2 separate regions of the Homo sapiens genome follow, and region 2 is linked to region 1. Evidence: promoter capture Hi-C in human tissues and cell types (Jung and others, 2019). All regions are on one chromosome and are shown on one strand. Each heading gives the region's core, a stretch centred on a gene start or on the middle of the fragment in contact. The rest is flanking DNA. Distances are from core to core; before and after follow the strand shown.

Evidence for each region. Contacts are between HindIII fragments. The study calls those that stand out against the background at their distance.
Region 2: a fragment that was not itself captured here is called in contact with the fragment with the promoter of GOT1L1 in region 1 in 1 of the 25 tissues and cell types used here (spleen).

What each region holds. Positions count from the first base shown.
Region 1 is chr8:37,936,918-37,942,126 of GRCh38, reverse strand. It overlaps GOT1L1 (glutamic-oxaloacetic transaminase 1 like 1), which reads left to right and starts at 2,003. Exons shown (of 9, transcript NM_152413.3): 1 at 2,003-2,212; 2 at 3,246-3,427; 3 at 4,378-4,489; 4 at 4,741-4,850; 5 at 5,070-5,162. The coding sequence starts at 2,098. RefSeq lists an enhancer at 1,981-2,497. The HindIII fragment of the contact is 11,209 bases long and covers 1-5,209 here.
Region 2 is chr8:37,398,886-37,404,468 of GRCh38, reverse strand. It overlaps a transcript of LINC01605 not described here. Among named protein-coding and RNA genes, the nearest start is that of LINC01605, 200 kb to the left of the region's middle. The HindIII fragment of the contact is 7,143 bases long and covers 1-5,583 here.

The sequences.
Region 1 (5,209 bases), core at 754-3,253:
CCCCATTAGCCAGTATGGTCTCAATCTCCTGTCCTTGTGATCTGCCTGTCTTGGCCTTCCAAAGTGCTGGGATTACAGGTGTGAGCCACCGTGCCCGACCTTTTTTTTTTTTTAAAGACAGGATCTCACTCTGTCAACCAGGCTGGAGTGCAGTGCCATGATCATAGCTCACTGCAATACCACCACGCCCAGCTAATTTTAAAATTTTTTGTGGAGTGGGTGGGGGGGGTCTCCCTATGTTGCTCAGGCTGGTCTTGAGCTCCTGGGCTCAAGTGATCCTCCCGCCTCAGTCTCCCAAAGCACTAGGATTGCAGGTGTGAGCCACCATGCCTGGCTGTGGCTGACCCTTTGTATGCCTAAATCAGGCAGTCATTGGCTACCCCTGTCAGTGGGGGTGAAACCTCCAGGTGGTTTCTAGGCTAGCTGACTCCTGCCAGCCAAGCACAATTCTCCAGAGAACACAGGCATATAAGCCTTGTCCACCAGCGAAGCAGCAGCTGGGGCCGGGCACATTGGTGGTGAAGGCCTTCTGGGTGAGACATCAACAGTGTTTGCAACAATCATTTAAAGAGTTATTTAACATCAGGCTGGGTGTGGTGGCTCATGCCTGTAATCCTAACACTTTGGGAGGCTGAGGTAGGCAGATCACTTGAGGTCAGGAGTTTGAGACCAGTCTGGCCAACGTGGTGAAACCCTGTCTCTACTAAAAATACAAAAAAAAGCCGGGCGCAGTGACTCACGCCTGTAATCCCAGCACTTTGGGAGGCCCAGGTGGGCAGATCACCTGAGGTCTGGAGTTTGAGACCAGCCTGATCAACATGGAGAAATCCCCCTCTCTACTAAAAATACAAAATTAGTTGGGTGTGGTGGCGCATGCCTGTAATCCCAGCTACTCGGGAGGCTGAGGCAGGAGAATCTCTTGAACCTGGGAAGCAGAGGTTGCAGTGAGCCGAGATCACACCACTGCACTCCAATGTGGGCAGCAAGAGCGAGACTCTGTCTCAAAAAAAAAAAAAAAAAAAAAGAGAGAGTCATTAAACATCAAAAGGAAAAGAAAGCAAGCAATATGCAGACTGACTCTATAGAGGCTGGCTCTTTTCTCCCCTTGGCCTCTGCTGTCTATACTTACTAGTTGGCTGTCATTGAAACTTAACAAATGGCCAGGTGTGGTGGCTCATGCCTGTAATCCCAGCAGTTTGGGAGGCCAAGGCAGGCAGATCACCTGAGGCAAGGAGTTCGAGACTATCGACAAAGTGAGACTCCATCTCAAAAAAAAAAAAAACCAAAAAAAGAAAGAAAAAGAAACTTAACAAACATATGTAGAAGTCTTGGCTCTAGATAACTGAGAGAAATAGGACTGGCTTAGTGAGTTGCCAATTATATTCTAATAATAGGATTCTTTATTAAAACAACTGTGGAAGAAAACAGTGTTTGCTTTTTATTCCTTTTGAAATCTGGGGCACTTTGCAAAATGGAAATCAATGCCTCGACTTGCATTGGTGTGTGATCTGGGGTTTTTGCTTCTGCAGGAGAAGCCCTATCTGGCTTATTGGCTGCCTGCCTTGCCCTATGTCTTTCTTTCTTTTTTTTTTTTTTAATTTGTATAAATGTGTGAAGTACAAGTGTAATTTTGTTAGATGCATACATCGCATAGTGGTGAAGTCAGGGCTTTTAGGGTATCCATAACCCCAACAATGTACATTGTATCTGTTAAGTAATCTCCCATTATCCTTGCCCTGTCATCTAAGGAGTGGGCTTGTTACTTTGGACTGAGCCACCTGGGGCTAGAGAAGAGAAGGCATTGAGTGAGGGAAACGGGCTTGGGAATTCCGGAGATTGTTATCCTGCCCTGCCCGCTGTCTGAGGGGATTCTCCTCAAGTACCCTGGAATGTTCCTGTGGCCCCTGTGGATCGCCACCACAAAGATCATGAGGTTCTGTTGCCCTGGCAACCCGTTGTCCAGCGCCTCTGCACTGGGGCTGCCAAGGTTCCAGGAAGAGGCAGGACTGCCCGGCCCAGCCTTGGAGGAAGACTTCTGGGCAGAAGCGGAACACAGGAGCAGAGACACATAGTCTTGGCTCCAGTTTCGTTTCAGTTATGCCCACCCTTTCAGTGTTCATGGATGTGCCCCTCGCCCACAAGCTAGAGGGCAGCTTGTTAAAGACCTACAAACAAGATGATTACCCGAACAAGATATTCTTAGCCTATAGAGGTAGATGCCTAGCAGTTCTGAAGTATAAGACTTAAGTGATGGTAACTGCCTCTAGGAGGACAGTGTTCCCTGCTGCAGGGGGAGGGGTGCAGCCCAAGCTTCTGTGGGTGGAGAGATCTTTTCTTGTTAACAGAATTACCCAGTGGGGAAAAGTGCAGATAAGGTCCCAGGTCATTCCATGCTCTCTGCCCTTCTCTGGGGGCTTCTAGGGATTTGGTGAGAGCTATGTCCTCTTCCACAACTCTATGCTTGGGGGCCTGCATGGCCATCCCACACTTCTTCAGATTCTTACCTCCTCTCTCTCTCTTTCTCTTTCTCTTCCTGTTCTTGAACCAAGAATGGTTCTCCAGATTGAGCTTTCTGCTATGCAACTGGGGCTCACCACTGTGAAAGTCAGGGTTACCTTTATTTAGCTTCATCTACCTATAACTCTCATTTTGCATATATATATATATATATATATATATATATATATATATATATTTTTTTTTTTTTTTTCTTGAGACAGGGCCTCACTCTGTTGCCCAGGCTGAAGTGCAGTGGCAAGATCTCAGCTCACTGCCACCTTTGCCTCCTGGGCTCAAACCATCCTCTTGCCTCAGCCTCCTGAGTAGCTGGGACTACAGGCGCTGGTCACCATGTCTGGCTGTTTTGTATTTTTTTGTAGAGACAGGGTTTCATCATGTTGCCCAGGCTGATCTTGAACTCCTGAACTCAAGTGATCCACCCACCTTAGCCTCCCGAAGTGCTGGGATTACAGGCCTGAGCCACCAATCCTGGGCTTGTATAATTTTTAACCTTTAAAATGGCATAGGTTTCAGTTGTCTTTTTTAAAAAGACAAAAATAATACACATTCACTAACAGCATATTCTTTTCATCAAGGAGAAAAGAAAAGGGAAAGTTGTATTTTCACAGGCACCTTCCCACAGCCCCATGGAGTCCAGGAGAGATTTGTTTGCAGGCTGTCTGCAGAGCTCAGCCCTGGGGGCCCAAACCAGGCATCTGGAGCTCCCTCTGTGGTTTTCCTCACAGTCTGCATGACAAATGAAGGCCATCCCTGGGTTTCTCTCGTGGTGCAGAAGACTCGACTACAGATTTCACAGGATCCCTCCCTGAATTATGAGTACTTGCCCACCATGGGCCTGAAATCATTCATCCAGGCCTCTCTAGCACTCCTCTTTGGAAAGCACAGCCAAGCCATTGTGGAGAACAGGGTGAGAAGGTGGGCCCTCCCCTGGCTCATTTAGACACAGAGAGTGGCGATCTGGGTCTGCACAACCTTAAACCCGAAGGGGACCTCGGAGGGCCCCCTGGTATTGATAAAAGAGATACCTGAGGCTCAGAGAGTCCACAAGTCCTTAGCCATCGAGTCAGGATCGGAATCTCAGTCCAGTGGTATTCCCACCTGCTCACACTGCTGATTTGAAAGCTCTTTCAAGACAGGAATGATCTGAATTGGAGGTGGTGTTAGTATTCCCATTACTGTTTTATTTTTTAACCTATTATATATATTTTTTGAGACAGAGTCTCACTCTGTCACCCAGGCTAGAGTGCAGTGGTGCCATCTCAGCTCACTGCAACCTCCACCTCCCAGGTTCAAGCAATTCTGGTGCTGCATCCTCCTGAGTAGCTGGAATCACAGGCATGTGCCATCACGCCCAGCTAATTTTTGTATTTTTTGTAGAGACAGGGTTTCACCATGTTGGCCAGGCTGGTCTCAAACTCCTGGCCTCAGGGGATTCCCTGCCTCGTCCTCCCAAAGTGCTGGGATTACAGGCATGAGCTACTGCGTCTCGCCTCCATTACTGTTTTAGAGTGTTATTTCTGTCTATTTCTTTTTATTTTTTAATGTTTATTTACTTATTATTTTTTTGAGACGGAGTCTCACTCTGTCACCCAGACTGGAGTGCAGTGGCCTGATCTCCGCTCACTGCAACTTCCGCCTTCCGGGTTCAAGTGATTCTCCTGCCTCAGCCTCTTGAGTAGCGGGGATTACACATGCCCAACACCACATCCGGCTAATTTTTGTATTTTTAGTAGATACGGGGTTTCAACATGTTGGCCATGACCTCGAGTGATCCACCCACCCCAGCCTCCCAAAGTGCTGGAATTACAGGTGTGAGCCACCACACCTGGCCTATTTGTGTCTATGTCTTGCTGGCAGGTAGGGGGTGTACACACTGTTGGTGACAGTGGTGCCTTCCAGCTTGGCGTCCAGTTTCTCAGAGCTTGGCATAAGGATGCTCGTATAGTTTACATCATCTCTTCTCAAAAAGGTTAGTCTTACCCAAGATGAGGGGAACAGCAATCCCCGTCCCTTGTTCCTAATCCTCACCCCATTTGCCATCTTCACTGTTATCCCTCATTCTCTGTCATGAGCAAAATGGCAGACAAGCCAAGCTATTTATGTCCTTTTCCTGTTAATGTCCCACCTTCAGCCAGTGACTCTCAGCCCCACACTCCAGTACCTCTGTCTCCGTCTCTCTGTTTCCCATGTACCAGCTAGTGGGGGGCTGTGTTCCCACAGAACTGCATGGACTCGTCTTCCAGGACATGGGCTTTACAGTTTATGAATACTCTGTCTGGGACCCCAAGAAGCTATGCATGGACCCCGACATACTCCTCAATGTGGTGGAGGTAGAGGGGCCCCGCTCAGAAACTCCTCCCTAGAGCTGACTTACAGCCTAATGTTCCTCTCCTCCCCACACCTCTTAAGTCATCCAAGACCTTTTCCAGGTTTGAATTTGCCTGGCCCTTCAATGGTAACTAACATGGAGGAGCACTTCACCCCCAAATGCCCTGGGGCCGCCACTCCTGGGTGGGGGTGAAGCCTGATGAGACCGTCTGTACCTGCAGCAGATCCCACATGGCTGTGTCCTTGTGATGGGGAACATTATCGACTGCAAGTTGACACCAAGTGGGTGGGCAAAGTTGATGTCCATGATAAAGGTAAACCCAATCTCCCACCCGACCTTCCTGTCTTTGACTCTCTGCTC
Region 2 (5,583 bases), core at 1,584-4,083, 540 kb after region 1:
GACTGTAGTGGCTGGTCCAGCGGGGAGGGTCAGGCAGGTAAGCTGGCCCAACCTGAGTCCTTCTTGAGGATTTTAGAAACTGAAGGTAGGAGAGAAAAATTCTCTCTTTTCTTCTGGGGAACGGGATGAAGGTGGTGGGTAGGCAGAGCTGTTGGGATGTGGATCCAGGGATTCTGGAAGTCCTGTCCTCCACCATGTAAAGAATACATCCTGCAGAAGGAGAGAAGGGAGCCAGCACACAGAGAAGCAGAGTCAGGAGATGGAGAAGGAGAATCCTGAGAGCCTGAAGGTCCCTGGGTCCAGCCATTGTCAAGGCCGAGTTCTACCGTCCTTAAGTTGTTTACCTTTCTTTCTTGCTTGCTTCTGTTAGAAGATGAACACTCAATGAAAAATCACCAAACATCTGAGGAAAGCCATCAAAATGAAATAAACGAAACACACAAGTTCCTAAACACAAGTGAACAGCGTGGGCTGGGTTTTTGTCGCTTGGAACTGGAAACGCTGACGATAATGCTGACCTCTGAGCAGACCCACGTGAGGGGCAGCTGTGGTGTGGTGTGATGATGCTGGGATAGGCACTCAGATGGTTGAGTCTGAGTTTGGCTCTGATATTATATCAACTGCATGGGCAGCTGTGGTGTGGTGTGATGATGCTGGGATAGGCACTCAGATGGTTGAGTCTGAGTTTGGCTCTGATATTATATCAACTGCATGGGCAGCTGTGGTGTGGTGTGATGATGCTGGGATAGGCACTCAGATGGTTGAGTCTGAGTTTGGCTCTGATATTATATCAACTGCATGGGCAGCTGTGGTGTGGTGTGATGATGCTGGGATAGGCACTCAGATGGTTGAGTCTGAGTTTGGCTCTGATATTATATCAACCGCATCATTTTGGGGAAGACACAATTTCTCAGAATTTTATTTAGTTGTAAAATAAAGATAATGATATTACATGCTCTGTCTACCATCTAGAGTTTTTGTCAAGACAAACTGAAGTAAACCGTGTTAGAGAAAAATGTTACAAAATTTTAAGCGTGAAGTGAGTAAACAGTGACTCTGTCCTGAGACTACAGCGGAAAGCTGCCTCACAGGCCACATGTGAAAATCTTCTGCCAGAGAACATGAACACTCAATGAAAAATTGCCAAACATCTGAGGAAACCCATTAAAATGAAATAAACAAGACAAGTTCTTATAATCAAGGAAACATAGATAATAGAGCCATCAGCACAGGCCTTTAAAAGAAAAGCAATTATATTTAATATCTTTAAATAGATAAAAGAGGGCATTATATGCATGAAAGAAGAATAGGAAATTATAAAACAAGGACAGTTTTTTTTTTTTTTTTTTTTGATAGGGTCTCACTCTGTTGCTTAGTGTGGAGTGCAGTGAATGGCGTGATCATAGCTCACTGCAGCCTTGAACTCCTGGACAATCCTCCCGCCTCAGCTTCCCAAAGAGCTAGGAGTACAGGCACATGCTATGATGCTCAGCTAATTAACATTGTGTATGTGTGTGTGTGTGTGTGTGTGTGTGTGTGTGTGTGTGTGTGTAAAAATAGGATCTTGCTATGCTGCCCATGCTGGTCTTAAACTTCTGGTTTCAAGTGATCTTTCTGCCTCGGCTTCCCAAAGTGCTGGGATTACAGGCATGAGCCACTGTACCCAGCCCAAAATTGTTTTATATGAGACTAGTTAAAGAGCTTAAAGATGAACCATATGATTACTAAGGAACAGAATGGATTCAATCAAATTTTTATTAAAGCCCACCAGGTGCTCTCTGCTATCTGATGCAGGGGATACAATAATGGACAAAACCAGACATGGCCTCTGGACTCACATACTAATAAGTAAGAAAGGAATTTGTACAATAACCACACCAACCAATTTCAGACTGGGTTTGATGATGAGATGATTAGGGGGGTCAGGCAGAGCTTCCCTAGGGGAGTGACAACAGAGTTGAGATCTCAAGGATGAGTCGGAATTAACCAGGTGAAAAGGGAGAGTGAGTTCCAGGTAGAAAGGGCAGAATATGTAAATGTGCAAATCTAAGAGAATGCAGCAAGGCTGTGGTAGGTGGGCCAGAAAGACTGAGGGGGAGCCTTAGAGAGTCTAAGGTTGGGGAAGGGGTGAAGCAGGGACAGATCATGTCAACAAGAAGCCTTTATAATTTTGGACTTTAAGCCAACTTTTGTTAGGAAGGAAGGAAAATTCTGTTTTTGCAAAAAGAGATTTAAAACCCTCCTCCCATTATCCAGTATTCAGAATACTTTTCCTCAGAGAGAAAATGCAAACTTCAGGTTCGAGAAGGAGAGTTTTATTATCACACAGCTCACAGTCAGCGTTTTGCTGAGCACAGGAGGAAGTGAAACTGCCCATAGAAATCATGCAGTGATAAAACTGAGAGATGGGGCCCTTGGGGACCGCAGGTGGCAATTGTGCCAGTTGAGACAGGGACAGCCCCTGTGATCCATGTTCATGCTGAGGTTAAACAGAGCCCAGGCAGTGGGGAGGGGAAAACAAGGCAGCAACCTCTGAAAGAAGTAGATATGGCATGAGGAGGGAGGGAGAGAGGCACAGAGGAAGATAGAGACAGAGACAGAGAGAAGGAGGAGAAGAGGGCACACACTTAGTTCACGATGCCTTTGAGTTCTCTATTCCAGTTCTTATGAGGCCTTGCTGAGCTAGTGTTCTACTTTGTGGGTTTCCATGAACTTCCTTTTAAGGTTCCGCTTATATTCTTACAGCTAATCCCTTTTTAATCTCCTGAGAAAAGAAAGAAAACGAAGTAGAATGATAACTATTTTCTACTTAAAGACTGCCATATTCACAGGGAATAAGCAAAGGCTGAGATTTAGTAACAGTGTTCTTGTAATAAGAGGCTTGACATTCTAGCCTGACAGCAAGGAATAAAAGCAGAAGAACATTTTTCCTGGACCATAACCATTCCCTTAGCTGGTGGAATAAAGGTTATTGCCACATCCCTAAAGAAGAGCAGCTGAAGACATATAATAATTCTGTAATCTGTATAGTCAGATGCATATCAATATTTTGGTACTCTTTGATTTTTATACAAAATATGACTTTAGCCATTCTTAACCTCTTAATATCTTCTTCATACAGACACTAAAATAATTTTTGAAATATTACTGTAGACTAGCACTTCCCAAATAGTGTTCCTTGAAAGGCTATCATCTCTAGATATATAACTGTACTTTGTGTGATAAAAGACTAGTTGGTTAAAAAAATTGGGAAACACTCTTGGAGATTCAAAATGCACATTTGTATATTAAAGGCTCTGAGAAGTCCTTCAGTGAAGAAGCTTGTTGAACTTTAACCCAGCATGCCCCAAATTCATTTAACTATTTTCGCCCATGCTGGAGTGCAGTGGTGCGGTCTTGGCTCACTGCAACATCTGCCTCCTGGGTTCAAGTGACTCTCCTGCCTCAGCCTCCAAAGTAGCTGGGATTATAGCCACCTGCCACCATGACCAGCTAATTTTTGTATTTTTAGTAGAGACGGGGTTTCACCATGTTGGCCAGGCTGGTCTTGAACTCCTGACCTCAAGTGATCCACCCTCCTTGGCCTCCCAAGGTGTTGGGATTACAGGCGTGAGCCACTGTGCCTGGCCTAACTATGAAACCTTTTTTTTTAATGAGCACCTATTAAAATCCTTCTGGACACAAATAATATGAGGAATAGAGCTTAGGAAACACTGTTATTATTCTAAGAATGTTCATGTGGGCTATGGTGTGGTAAAGTTGGCATGACCGCAAGAGGGAATGAGAATAAAGCTTGAAAAGAAAAAGTTGATTATACTCACAGATCCCAGAGAGGAATTCGCCACATGCCATACTGGGCCACAGGAGAAGCACCAGGTTTGGGTCAGGTGGCAGAAGACAAGAGTGCGGGGAGAGCCTGAGATAGAGCTGGGGTTTCTGCGGGAAACGCAAGGCAGGGCAGAGTGGACAGATTAGGGCTGACTAGTTTGAATAATTCTGGTGGGCTTTGAGCTATAGCAGTGGTCTCTAGTTGCCTGGTACCTGGCACTGGGATGATTTAGGACAGAGGAAATATTGGCTTGATATGTGAGAGTTATAGAAGGAGGTGGTTGAGGCTAGAGATGTGGGATTGGTTTGTTTGTACATAAGAAACATACTCCTTGCTGAGTCTTTTACTGAGACTAAGAAGGGACTGGCCAGGAAGGAACAGTCTCCCCTTGGTCAGAAAGCTTTTTAAGATGTCAAAACATCACAAAATGTAAAAAATACAAAAACACAATCAATACAGTGATACAGGGATATTTTGGATGAGTGTACCCTGATTGACTTCAAAAGTCTAGATTTTGGAGACCAAAGTGGGCAAAAACCAAGTAAGATGAGCAATTCCTCATTAAAAAATTTTGTTTTTATTGTATCAATCACAGTCTAGTCAGAAAAAGAAACCAACCTATGTATTTCATACAGAGGATATTTAATACAGGCAATAGGCTACAACGATCTTAGACAGTCAAAGAGCAAAAAAGGGGAAATTAAGGTAAATCAGATATTATCTAGGGCTGGAGGAACAAAAGAATGGTGATGGGGTTTCCAGAACCTAAGAGCACAGAAAGTGGATTACAGCCTCAAAAGCGTGATGGTGGTGATGTGTGCCTGTAGTGCCAGCTACTTGGGAGGCTGAGATGGGAAGATCACTAGAGCCTGGGGAGGTTGAGGCTTCAGTGAGCCATGATCACACCACTGCACTCCAGCCTGAGTGACAGACCAAGACCCTGTCTCAAAAGAAGTAAAAAGCTGAGATGGTGGAAGAAACACTATCAGAAGAAGAAAGGAGAGAAGCAGGAGAAGAGAGAGAGACAGAGAGAGAAAGAGAGAGAGAGAGAGAGAGAGAAACAAAGACATCTCCCTTCCTCTCTTGTCTTGATTTTCCTGCCAGTTAGACAAAACTTAACTGGAAGCCAACTGCCAAAGAGATCTGGGAAATGTAGTTTTCAGACTTCCAGCCCCATTATTATAGAGGGAAGTTATGGGACCATGCTTAACAAAGCTCAGTTTTGGCTTGGGGCAGTTTTGTAAAGAGCTACATATTACTAGCTATTATTATGAGGCTATTGTTCAAGTCTTAATGGATCTGCCAAACAATCATTTTGACTTATACTCTCTTCTAAATTAATTAGTAGTTTGACTAATCAGTGTGATCATTTAAGGCCAACATGCCCCAAGGGAAAACGTGTAAATAAGTTTTTTTGAATTATTCAAATAAGAGAAAATTCTATTTGAAAAAGAAGTCTCTAGCAGTAAAACTTTTCACAGAAAAAAACCCCCAAAACCACACCTGAAAAGAACCTGAATGTTTAATAATAGGTGATGAACTAGGATAATTTTAGTATATTACTTAGACTCTTATGTATTTATCACAAATAATTAGTGTTGGTGTTACATAAGAAAACCCATTCTTGGGGAAGGATTAAATGCTAACCAAAGCAACTTATTTTTAATTAATATTTTTAGACTCTATGCTGTCATACTGAACTCACTGCTAGCTAAGAGACCTATCAGAGATTTAAATATATTTTCTCAAGGTTT